Regions from separate parts of the Homo sapiens genome. Here region 1 is linked to region 2. Evidence: promoter capture Hi-C in human tissues and cell types (Jung and others, 2019). All regions are on one chromosome and are shown on one strand. The core of a region is centred on a gene start or on the middle of the fragment in contact, and the rest is flanking DNA. Distances in the headings are between cores, read along the strand shown.

The links. Contacts are between HindIII fragments. The study calls those that stand out against the background at their distance.
Region 1: a contact is called between a fragment that was not itself captured here and the fragment with the promoter of ITGB7 in region 2, in 1 of the 25 tissues and cell types used here (heart left ventricle).

What each region holds. Positions count from the first base shown.
Region 1 is chr12:53,561,903-53,567,849 of GRCh38, forward strand. All of the region lies in intron 2 of ATF7-NPFF (ATF7-NPFF readthrough), which reads right to left. The region is part of intron 2 of ATF7 (activating transcription factor 7); the gene reads right to left. The region is part of intron 2 of LOC124902937 (a long non-coding RNA gene); the gene reads left to right. Among named protein-coding and RNA genes, the nearest start is that of ATF7-AS1, 51 kb to the left of the region's middle. The HindIII fragment of the contact is 4,567 bases long and covers 1-4,176 here.
Region 2 is chr12:53,202,878-53,209,501 of GRCh38, forward strand. ITGB7 (integrin subunit beta 7) reads right to left here and starts at 4,374. Exons shown (of 16, transcript NM_000889.3): 1 at 4,325-4,374. RefSeq lists an enhancer at 2,414-2,503. The HindIII fragment of the contact is 22,503 bases long and covers 1-6,624 here.

The DNA.
Region 1 (5,947 bases), core at 643-3,142, 360 kb after region 2:
CAAGAACAGAAAACTTTCCCCCAAAATACTCAAAGATAAAATGTTGTCAGGGGAATGAAGGAGGACAAACTAAACAGAGGAGCGGGGACAACCCACCAAACTGTACCTAAGGTAAATTCATTTGTCTATGGATTGAGGAATTTTCTGTTTTGGGAAGGCTGTTGGAATATCTTAAAGATTCTGGCAGCTTAACAAATAAGTCCACTGTATAAAGAAAAGGAATTTTGAAAGCAGAGATATTATTTGATAGTTGGTCTAGCTGCCATGCTGCTGCTACAATGTAAGCTCCTCAAGAACAAGGATCTCTCCATTTGCTTGTTCATGGACAAATCCCAAGCACCTAGAACGGTATCTGTACACAGTAGGTGCTTAATATTTGTTGAATAAATGCCAACTAGCACGTCTCACTAAAGTGCTACAAAGCAACCCCAACCTACAAAACTTTTGCCCATGTAGGCCGGGCACGGTGGCTCACGCCTGTAATCCCAGCACTTTGAGAGGCCGAGGCGGGCAGATCACCTGAGGTCAGGAATTCAAGACCAGCCTGGCCAACATGGTGAAACCCCGTCTCTACTTAAAAAATACAAAAAATTAGCTGGGTGTGGTGGTACGCACCTGTAATCCCAGCTACTCGGGAGGCTGAGGCAGGAGAATCACTTGAACCCAGAAGGCCGGTGAGCCGAGATTGTGCCACTGCACTCCAGCCTGGGGGACAAGAGCGAAACTTCATCTCAAAAAAAAAAAAATTTTTTTTTGCCCATGTGTGCAATGGTGGGACAATTTTCATCATCCATATCCAAAAGGAGAGTTGGTATCTATCTTAAACACCAGCTTTTTCCTACGGAACCAGAGGCTGGGCCCAGTCAGGACCAAGAATACCCTAATGCAAGGATGCAAGAAGATCAGAGTAAGAAACAAATAGAATTTCAAAAATTGTAACCACAGGAAAAAGACAAAATGGCAGCAATGGGGATTTAAATCATTAGGAAGGATTTGACTCTTGGGGGTGGGGTGGGTTTGAAATCATTCCCAAAGGAGATTTTAAAGGAATGTAAAATACATTACCTTTCTGTCCTCTTGTCCTTGTTTATGATTTTATTTTCTGCTATTCTTCTACTAACACTTTCTACCCAGGTCAGTCTCTTACTGATCTGCGAAGTCTATTTATTTTCAATTTTGTGCCTCCACACACATTCCCATATTCCTTGAAATGTGTTCCTCTCTCCATTGTTTACTGGAATACTACCATTTTTCTAGGCCCAGCTGAAATCCAATAGCTTTTTGAAAGCTTCTCTAATGACTCCAATCTTCAGTGATCTATCTTTCTTGAACTTGTATAGTATTCAAATGGAAATTTATTTATATAATTATACATATAGAATTTTAGTCTATATGGTCTCACAATTTTTATCTTTTTAAAGTAGACTGTATGGGCAGGCGCAGTGGCTCACACCTGTAATCCCAGCACTCTGGGAGGCTGAGGCGGGAGAATTGCTTGACCCCAAGAGTTTGAGACCAGTCTGGGCAACAAGGTGAAACCCCACCTCTACCGAAAAGAAAAAAAAAAAATTAGCCAGGTGTGGTGGTGTGTGCCTGTAGTCCCAACTAGGAAGGCTGAGGTGGGAGGGATCACTTGAACTGGAGGCAGAGGTTGCAGTGAGCCAAGATTGTGCCATCGCACTCCAGCCTGGGCAACAGAACAAGGATGTCTCAAACAAAGTAGACTGTAAACTACTAGAGGGTTAAAAACATGTCTCACACTTATTTTTTATCCTTTTCACCTGCCCCACCTCTGGGCTTGCCCAGTTTGGCACTCAATAAATTATTGCTTCAGTGATTGGGTAAAGTTTTATATAGTGACATAAGAGTAACTGTTGAAAAGCTTTATCACTCTTGGATTCTCAGACCTTAACATGGCACACTTTCAGAAAGATCTGATGGCTTTCCAACTCCATTTGCAAAGTAAATTTCACTGTTCAAATCAGTGAGAATTAGTGTATCCTCTTGCCTACTTTTTTTGATACCAGATTCCCTTTATTACAGAAAGGCACCTAAGACAATTACAGTATGCTAGAGTTATACTGCTGTTGTATGAAAGGACACTGGTGCCATGGTCTTTGTGGGTCAATTCACTTTCTTAGGGTATCTGATTCCAGCACTGAATTTTATTACCAATTAAAATGTCCTGTGAGGCCAGATACAGTGGCTTATGCCTGTAATCCAGCACTTTGGGAGGCTGAGGTGGGCAGATCACTTGAGGCTAGGCGTTTGAGACCAGCCTGGCCAACATGGCAAAACCCTGTCTCTACTAAAAATATAAAAATTAGCTGGACATGGTGGTGCATGCCTGATAATCCCAGTTACTTGGGTGGCTGAGGCACAAGAATCACCTGAACCCAGGAAGTGGAGGGTGCAGTGAGCTGAGATCACACAACTGCATTCCAGCCTGGGCGACAGAGCAAGACTCTGTTTCAAAATATAAACTAAACTCAACTAAAATACCTTGTGCAAAAAAATGTGAATTTACAAGCCATTCCCTTTTAAGTTCCTTCTTCAATCCCCAAACCACTAGTGGTAATTTTAACCACATCCTTTTGAGCATTTTCTTTTAAGATCTCAATTATTTGAATTTTACAGGCAGAATATGAGCATATGAGCATCTCATAGGTGTCAAACAGTGTCAAGAACTGGATTCCTCCTTTAAAAAATCGTACACTCCAGTATCTGACAAAAGGAAAAGTATGTTACAATTAAATCAACAAGCTAGTTAGAGGGGAACAGAAAAAGAATTTTAAACCCATAGTCAACACTGAGTTGTTGGGTCTTCATCGTTATGATCTGGGTTTAATAGCAATGCATTATTATTCTACATCAAACTTGTCCAACCTTTGGCCTGCAGACCACATGCAGCCCGGAATGGCTTTCAACATGGCCCAACATAAATTCGTAAGCTTTCTTAAAACATTATCAGATTTTTTGGCGATTTTTTTTTTGTTTAGTTCATCAGCTATTGTTGGCGTTAGTATATTTTTATGTGTGGCCCAAGACAATTCTTCTTCCAATGTGGCCCAGGGAAGCCAAAAGATTGTACACCTCTGTTTTACATTATACAGACCAATGGTATAACTATTCCTCTAAGTACCTAAGTTTTAAGCCCTCAGCCATACTGCAATACTTGCTTCTATTTTGGTTCCTTGTTCCTTCCTCCTGACAAATGTGAAAATTCATGAGCCCCATGGGTCAAGTCTTCTGCCAAGTAAGTTGCAGGTGCCCAATAAATCACAGCAAAAAGGAAACTGAGCTCCAAAGGTCATTTAGGCCAACTCCATCAGGGATTGGGCAATGTAGGAAAGAGGGTGGTAAATATAATTTCTTACCAGTTTGGGTTAAAAAAGATTAGTTTTTTTTTTTCAAATGTTACTTATTATTTGATGGGATTGAGAAATACAACCTCATCATAGGTATAGATATACTTAGCCAAAGTCCTGGTCATCTCAGTTTCTGCTATGTGATTCCTAAACACCATAGTCAAGCAGAAAGTATAATTCTTTGCTCTTTCTTCTCTCACACTCTCTTTTTCTGGGCGGGGGCGGGGGGGAGGGGGGCAGGGGGCAGAGTCTTACTTCATCACCCAGACTGGAGTATAGTGGCATGATATTGGCTAACTGCAACCTCTGCCTCCCAGGTTCAAGTGATTCTCGTACTTCGGCCTCCTGAGTAGCTGGGATTACAGGTGTGTGCTACCACACCCGGATAATTTTTATAGTTTTAGTAGAGATGGGGTTTCACCATATTGGCCAGGCTGGTCTCAAACTCCTAACCTCAAGTGATCCACCTGCCTCAGCTTCCCAAAGTGCTGGGATTACAGGTGTGAGCCCCTGTGCCTGGCCCCCTTCTCTTTTTAATAGTACTCTCTTATGACTTTTTTCAATAAGGCTATTGTATCAGCCTGTTCTCTCGCTGCTAATAACGACATACCCAAGACTGGGTAATTTATAAAGGAAAGAGGTTTTATGGACTCACAGTTCCACATGGCTGGGGAGGTCTCACAATCATGGCGGGAGGCAAAGGAGAAGCAGAGTCACATCTTACATGGCAGTAGGCAAGAAGAGCATGTGCAGGGGAACTCCCCTTTATAAAACCATCAGATCTAGTGAGATTTATTCACTATCAATGAGAGCAGCATGGGAAAAACCTGCCCCTCATGATTCAATTACTTCCCATTAGGTCCCTCCCACAATACATGGGGATTATTACAATTCAAGGTGAGATTTAGGAGAGGATACAGCCAAAGTATATCAGCTATAAACTATAAACTATCAGTCCTGAGAAGACTGTTGTCAATTAATGCCTTGTATAACTGGATTGCTCAGGAGAAGGGAGAGTAAGGCAGTGAAAGGGAAGGGGCAATAGGTTTGAGGAAGACATTATTGGTTTCTTAACCCAACCCCCATTTTTCAACCATTTTCTCTTGCTTGCCTCACTATAAAGGCTGAAAAGCAAGATATTCCTTTTTCCTATGCAGCTGGTATTAAACCTGTCACACAGTTCAGGCCAATAAGACAATGAAATCCACCGTGGTGGGGGTGGAGGATGGCACTTCTGATGTAAGGCTTTTGTCTCCTTATAAAAGGGAAAGCCAGAACAAGAGAGTTCCTGATGCTACCTGCCCCTTATTTCTTTCCCATCCTCTGATAGTGAGGCAACAGGAATGAGGATTAAAAGGTAAAAGCTAAAAATGGTACAGCAGAGAGAAAGAACCTAGGTCCTTGATAAACTTGCTTAGCTGCTGAAACAGTCCTAATTCTGGACACCTTGTGTTATAAATGTTGACACAGTTTTTTTTTGTTTTTGTTTTTGCTTTGTTTTGAGATGCAGTCTTGCTCTCTTGCCCAGGCTGCAGTGCAATGGCATGATCTTGGCTCACTGCAACCTCTGCCTCCCGGGTTCAAGCAATTCTCCTGCCTCAGCCTCCTGAGTAGCTGGGATTACAGACACACGCCACCATGCCCAGCTAATTTTTGTATTTTTAGTACAGATGGGGTTTCACCATCTTGGTCAGGCTAGTCTCGAACTCCTGACCTTGTGATCCGCCCGCCTCTGCCTCCCTAAGTGCTGGGATTACAGGCGTGAGCCATTGCGCCCAGCCTGTGTTCACACAGTTTTAAGCTACTGTTAGGTATTTGCATCTGAAACCATTCCTAACCAATATACGATTTTCAATATGTATAGATTCTACTTCATTTTCTATCTAAGGAACTTAGAAATGGAATATACAAGAAATTATTTTATTCTACATCTTCATGAATATTTATCAGTTGTATCCTAATGCTGAATTCTGTTTTCTTTTTCACATAATATACCAAATAAATTCCATCTCATCACCACCTATTGCCTCAAGCTTCCTTAGAAACAATGGCTATACACTGGGCTTTTAGGAAGAACAAGATGGTAAGAGAGTGGCACCTTACAATGCTGCTTTGGAAACTGGGGCAGTTAAAGATCACTCCTCACTAAAGAATGGAGTTTTAGACTGGAGCAGCATGTTTTCTTATTTCTCGCTGCCCCTCTTCCTCAATACCCAGTGTTTGGCTTTTTATCAAACTCCAGGGCACTCTTGGGAACTACGCTTAAGAATTAACAAGGATAGATCCATTATCTTTCCTTAGATGGCAGCTACTTACTTGGATGGGTTAAATGCTCAACAAACTTTAAAGGACCAGTGCCTAGGAGGCAGAGAAATCCCAGCAGCAATTCAGCCAGGCCTGGTCCTATGTCAGTTACATGGCTAATTGCTTTCTCCACAGCTCTTGCCTAATGGTAGACCTTTTAGTATTCTCCTATCCAGATGTAGCCACTTAGCTGGGGTACCATTAAAGTCCCCAAAGGGATAACTGTAGTTCTTAACAAAGCAAGAAAAGGTTATTTTAAAATCAAAATAATTATC
Region 2 (6,624 bases), core at 3,124-5,623:
AAAGAATGAAGTTGGACCCCCTCCCCACCTCACACCATATACAAAGGTTAACTGAAAAGAGATCAAAGCCCTAAATATAACTACTAAAACTATAAATTCTTAGAAGAAAGTATATAGGTAAATCTTCATAATCTTGGACTTGGTAATGGATTCTTAGCTGTAATACCAAAAGCACAAACAACAAAAGGAAAAACAGATACATTGGACTTCATCAAAAATTTAAAGTTTTGTGCATCAAAGACAATGTCAAGAGAGCGAAGACAACCCACAGAATGGGAGAAAATATTTGCAGATTATATATCAGATGAGTATCCTTAATATATAACGAACTCTTACAATTCAACAACAAAAAGACAACCCAACTTTCAAAATGAGCAAAAGACTTAAAAAGACATTTCTTCAAAGAAGATAGACAAATAGCCACCCAGCAAATGAAAAGATGCTCAACACTATTAATCATTAGGAAAATGCAAATGAAACCCACAATGATCTGGGTATGGTGGCTCACACCTGTAATCCTAGCACTTTGGGAGGCTGAGGTGGGTGGATCACTTGAGGTCAGGAGTTCAAGACCGGCCTGGGCAACATGGTGAAACCCCATCTTTGCTAAAAATACAAAACTTAACTGGGCATGGTGGTACATGCCTGTAGCTCCAGCTACTCGGGAAACTGAGGCACAAGAATCGCTTGAACCCGGGAGGCAGAGGCTTCAGTGAGCCAAGATCGGGCCACTGCACTCCAGCCTAGGCGACAGAGCGAGACCCTGTCTCAAAAAAAAAAAAAAAAAAAAAAAAGAAAGAAAGAAAAGAAAAGAAGAAGAAAAAAACCACAATGAGATACCACTTCACTTCTACTAGAATGACTATCAAAAAATGAAAAACAATGAGTGTTGATGAGAACATGGAGAAATTGGGATCTTTATACATTACCGTGTAAGGAATGTAAAGTGGTACAATCTCTGTGGAAAACAATTTGGTTCCTCAATAAATTGAGCATAGGATTATCCTATAACCTGGCAATTTCACTCTTAGGTATATACTCAGAAGAATTGAAAACAGGTGTTCAAACAAAAACTGGTACAGAAATGTTCACAGCAGCACTACTCACAATAGCTAAAAGGTAGAAAGAACCCAGATGTCCATCAACTGATGAATGGATAAAGAAAAGGTGGTATATCCATACAGCAGAACGTTATTTGGCCATAAAAAGCAATGAAATGGGTCTGGGCACAGTGGCTCACGACTGTAATCCCAGCACTTTGGGAGGCCGAGGCGGGTGGATCACTTGAGATCAGGAGTTCAAAACCAGCCATACCAACATGGTGAAACCCCATATCTACTAAAAATACAAAAATTATCCAGGCATGGTGGTGGTCTCCTGTAACCCTAGCTACTTGGGAGGCTGAGGCAGGAAAATCGCTTGAACCCAGGAGGCGGAGGTTGCAGTGAGCCGAGATTGTGCCATTTCATTCCAGCCTGGGCAACAAGAGCAAAACTCGGTCTCAAAAAAAAAAAAAAAATGAAGTACTGATACATACATGCTACAACATGGATGAACCTTGAAAACATGCTCAGTGAACAAAACCATTCATGAAAGGTCACATATTGTATGATTCCACATATGGAACATATCCAAACTAGAAAAATCCACAGAGACAGAAGGTAGATTAGTGGTTACCAGAGCTTGGGAGAAGGGGAAGTGGGGAATGACTGCTTAATGGGCAGTTTCATTTTAGGGTGATGAATAAGTTCTGGAATTAGTGAATGTACTTAATGCCACTGAATTGTACACTTAAAAGGGGTAAAAATGATAAATGTTTGTGTATCTTACCATTTTAAAAATCAAAAAGTTAAATAAGATGGTGAGAAATCTCCTACTCCATATGCCATACCCAGTTCCCACACCTACCCTAAATAAATATCATTTACTACTATCTTTGTTTCTTTTTTCTTTACCTTTTTTTTTTTTTTTTTTTTGGCAGAGTCCCACTCTGTCGACCAGGCTGGAATGCAGTGGCGTGATGTACAACCTCTGCCTCCTGGGTTCAAGTGAGTCGTGTGCCTCATCCTCCTGAGTAGCTGGGATTACAGGTGTGAGCCACCACACCCAGCTAATTTTTGTGTTTTTAGTAGAGACAGAGTTTCACTATGTTGGCCAGGCTGGTCTCGAACCCCTGACTTCAAGTGATCCACCCACCTCGGCCTCCCAAAGTGCTGGAATTACAGGCATGAGCCACTGTGCCTGGCCTTAAATTGTTTCTAGTTCCCTATGACAAATAATGCTGAAATGAAAAGTAATGTATGTATTTATTTATTTATTCATTTGAGAGATAGGGTCTTGCTCTGTCACCCGGCTGTAGTGTACTGGTGCAATCATGGCTCACTGCTGCCTTGACCTTGCCGGCTCAATTGATCCTTCCACCTCAGCCTCCCGAGTAGCTGGTACTACAGGCGCATGCTACCATGTCTGGCTAATTATTTTTGTATTATTTTGCAGAGATGGGGCTTCCCCATGTTGCCCAGGCTGGTCTAGAACTCCTGAGCTCAAGCGACCCACCTGCCTCGGCCTCCCAAATTGCCGTGATTACAGGCGTGAGCCATCACCCCCAGCCAAATGTCATGTATTTATCATTTCACACGTCTGCAACTGAATCTGTAGGATAAATCCCTAGCAGAGGACGTGCAGGATAACTAGATAGGTATCATTTGTAATACTGGTGTGTATTTCATCTACATTCTCATGCTAAGAAATATATATATATAGGTGGGTATTGCCAACATAAACTCTTCAGGACTTGTACTGGTCCACATTCCCATCAGCAATGTATGAGAAAGGCCAACTAACTCCTTGTCATAAACCATTTGCATCTTCTTCAGCCTGGGCCCAGAGTCAGGTCCAGATACTCTGCACAGAGTGTGGGAAAGGGGTGGGGTGTTGAGTCCTTGAATGTCCTGGTCCTGCTCCCCACCACCTGTGACCTCAGGCGCCATATATAACGGAGCCTCCACCCCTCGGGGAGAGGCCAGTCCCAGCTCAGCCTCAGCGTAACCTCAGCCCTGCTTGCTCTGCATGCCTGTGGTCAGGGAGGCTGGAGATGCTGCAACCCAAAGCCGGGTTTTGACTCATCTCTCACAAGTGGAGCCCCGGCTGCCGCATAGGTTTTTCAGAGACCTTAGGCCCACTCATCTCCCCTTAAAGGGGGCCCTGGGACTTCCTGGACAGCCCTTTCCTACCTTTCTTTCCAATTATCCTCTCTTCTCCCCTCCTTGAGAATACATGTTCTGCCACCTATTTCTCTGTCTGCTTCTCTGTCTCTCTCTGGCTCCTTTCATTTCAAAACTTCTATTGCATCTCTCTGCTGCTTTTCTCTGCTCCACTTCTTCATAGGGCTATTTTACTTCCTTTTCCCCTCTGTTCCTAACTATAGAATGGCTGAATCTACTACTCCATCCCACTCTTTTTACAAATGGAAACCTAAATTCCATGAGGCCAGGGTCACCCAGTGAACTAGGGGCAGGGCAGGACAGGGCAGGGCCAGGCCTCTGCTGTGCTTTCTCCTTTCCTCCCTCCAACCCAGGCACTATCTCCATCAAAAGTTGTGTTCTCTCCCCACTAGCCCTGGTGGGCTCTGCCTAATCCCATTTCTCTTTCCTTAGGGGTATTCTGCAGTCTTCCCTTCTCTCTCTGGGACCAAGTGGTTATTTCCATTTTTCTGGACTCCATTCTGACTCCAGTACACACCCTGTGACCCCCCTCAGCAGCTGAGAAACAGAGCCTCTTCCAAACCCATCCCTACCTTCCAAATCAAGCAGAACCCTCTGCTGCCCACTGGGAGTCACAAGGAGGGGACGGAACTGAGCTGCTGGGCCTCAGTGTCCCAGGACAGTGGAGTCTGTGACCAAGGTGCCGATTAGGAAGAAGTCTGAGCTGAAGGCAGAGCATTAGGGATAGCAGCTGGGGGTGATGTTGGAAGAACCCTCCCTCAGTATAATCGGTATACCTGCCCTACTTCGGTATAGTCCTTGGCACATGGCAGGCACTCAGATGACAGCACTCATATACATCCCTGCCTCCAGACCCACTCATGGGAAACTGATGCAGGAGAGATTGGGCTTTTGGAGAGGTGGAGGTGGGGGTACTGTGAAACTGGAGGAGGGAACCAGGTCAGGGGATCTTAGGAATGCAGAAAGGAGTTCAGAGCCTTTCTCAAGTCTGGACAGGACCCTCGGTATCCAGGTCAGAGCCCTCTTCCCAAGAGGTTGGGACCAGGTGGGCCAGAGCTTGTAAGGAGAGGAGGCAGAAGGGCTGGTGCCCTGGTACTCACAGGTGCGTGCAGAGCAGTCCTTCCTCTGGCGGCAGCAGCAGCCTTTGTGTACTGATCTGGGAGACGGCAGAGGAGGAAGTGACACTCCCCAGGGTGGGGAAGATTTGGGGTTGGTGGGGGTGACTGATCTAGAAGGTGGTGCAGATAGGGGTGGGGCTGAGCCAAGGGAGTGGACAATACAGAGATCTGGAAGAAAGAAGCCCATTTATTGAACCCCTGTCATGTGTTGAACGTAACATATTACAATTAACCCTCACAACAATCTCATAAGATAGGGGTTAATATTCCCCCAAGCCCCAATTTTACAGATGCAGAGATTGAGGCTTGGAAGCAGGAAATAAAGAATTTTGCCCAAGGTCCCACAGCTAGTAAGTAGCTAGTCTAGGATTTAAAAAAAAAAAAGAAAAAAGATTTTTATTTTAAATTTTTATTATTTTATTTTTTTTATTTTAATTTAATTTAACTTTTGAGACAGGGTCTTGCTCTGTTTCCCAGGCACAATCTCAGCTCACTGTCCCATGGCACAATCTCAGCTCACTGCAAACTCCGCCTCCCAGGTTCAAGCGATTCTCCTGCCTCAGCCTCCCGAATAGCTGGGATTACAGGGGTGCACTACCATGCCCAGCAACGTTTTATATTCTTAATAGAGACGGGGTTTCACCATGTTGGCCAGGCTGGTCTCAAACTCTTGACCTCAATTGATCTGCCCACCTCGGCCTCCCAAAGTGCTGGGATTACAGGTGTGGGCCACCATGCCCAGCCTGTTTTTTATTTTTGAGACAGGGTCTTGCTGTGTTGCCCAGGCTGGTCTGTAACTCCTGGACTCAAGCAATCCTCCCACTTTGGCCTCCTGAGTAGCTGGGATTACAGGCACACTCGGCTGGTCTGGGATTTAAATCCAGGTCTGCCTGCCTCCAAAATTCATGATCTCTCCATTTACTTATATAGGAAGGAACATGATAGGAGGGAATAGGGGCAGTAAGTACTGTAGAGAGGCCAGAAATTACAGACTTGTTCATTTTGAAAACCCAGGATACATTATATAAGTGTGCTTGACTACATAGGCTCTGGAGCCAAGTTGCTAGAGTTCAAATCCTGGCTCTACTACTTACTAGTAGTAAGGAGCTTAGCTGAGTTACTTAAACCTGCCTGCAGCTGTTTTCTCATCTGTCCAGCAAGACTCACAGGATTGTCGTGAGAATTAAAAGAGATAATTCATATCAATTGCCTACAAGACTACCTGGCACATACTAAGTAAGGGCTTGATAAGAGAATTAGTAGGGATGAGAAGTAGCAGAGGTGAGAAGTGAAGAGGCTTTGAGAAATTCAAGGTCCACACAACTGGAAACTTGGAAGAGAGAGGCATAGGGCCAGGCTCAGAGCATGTGATTGGGGAACCAGGAGCCAACACAGTAGTGGATCCTGGGAAAGGGGTGGAGGAGGTGAACTGGGAGAAGCAGAGAGTGCAGGAACAACAGCTGAAGCCAAGGCAAGGATGAAGCCCGTAGGGAGAGCAGGAAAATATTAATGGGATTTGCTCCTGGCCCATACAGATCACTAAGAGCTTTGAGAGGGAACTAGACATGAGGTCTGTGTTCACAGGTCGATCTCCCCTACCAGAAGGAGCACTCCTTGTAGGCAGGGACTGGCTCTACAAGGCTTCCCTGCTGGAGCCACCACACCTAGCCAAGTGCCCATCTTATAGTAGGTGCTCAATAAATGTCAGATGGATTGCAGAGGTGTAGCTGCTAGGAGGGGACAATTGGAGAGGAGGGGCTCTTTCTCTGGGTGGGCTTGGCTGGCCTCAGGCTATGGGATAGCCAGGACCTATACCCTTCCCCCACAACCAGGGGTTACCACGGCAATGACCCTCCTTCCCCACAGGCCCTGTGGTTTCCTCTAGAGCTTCTTTCACTTTCTTCTTCTGCTTTCCGCCCTCCACTCTTCTCTCCCCTACTCCCACATCCTCAACTTTTTTGTCATAACCACAGGTCACCAATGAAGAGAGCCAGGAACAAGGTAGGCAAGGCACTGTCCCAGGGAAGGTAGGACACGGAGGAGGGGCTTGAGGGGAGTCACAGAGGGCGAAGGGAAGAGTACAGGGTGCAGCAGTAGAGGCCAAAGGCACTGCAAAGGCGTGTTGCAGAGGGAAGGCGTGTGGGAGCAAGGACAGATATTCGGAAAGAAGGTAACAGTGCAGGTGGCAGTGAGTGGAGGTCATGGGGTGAAGAGTGGGAACAGAGAGGGTGGGGGGAGTAAGGTATAAGGTGATAGCAGGGTGGTTGGGGACAGAAGGCCAG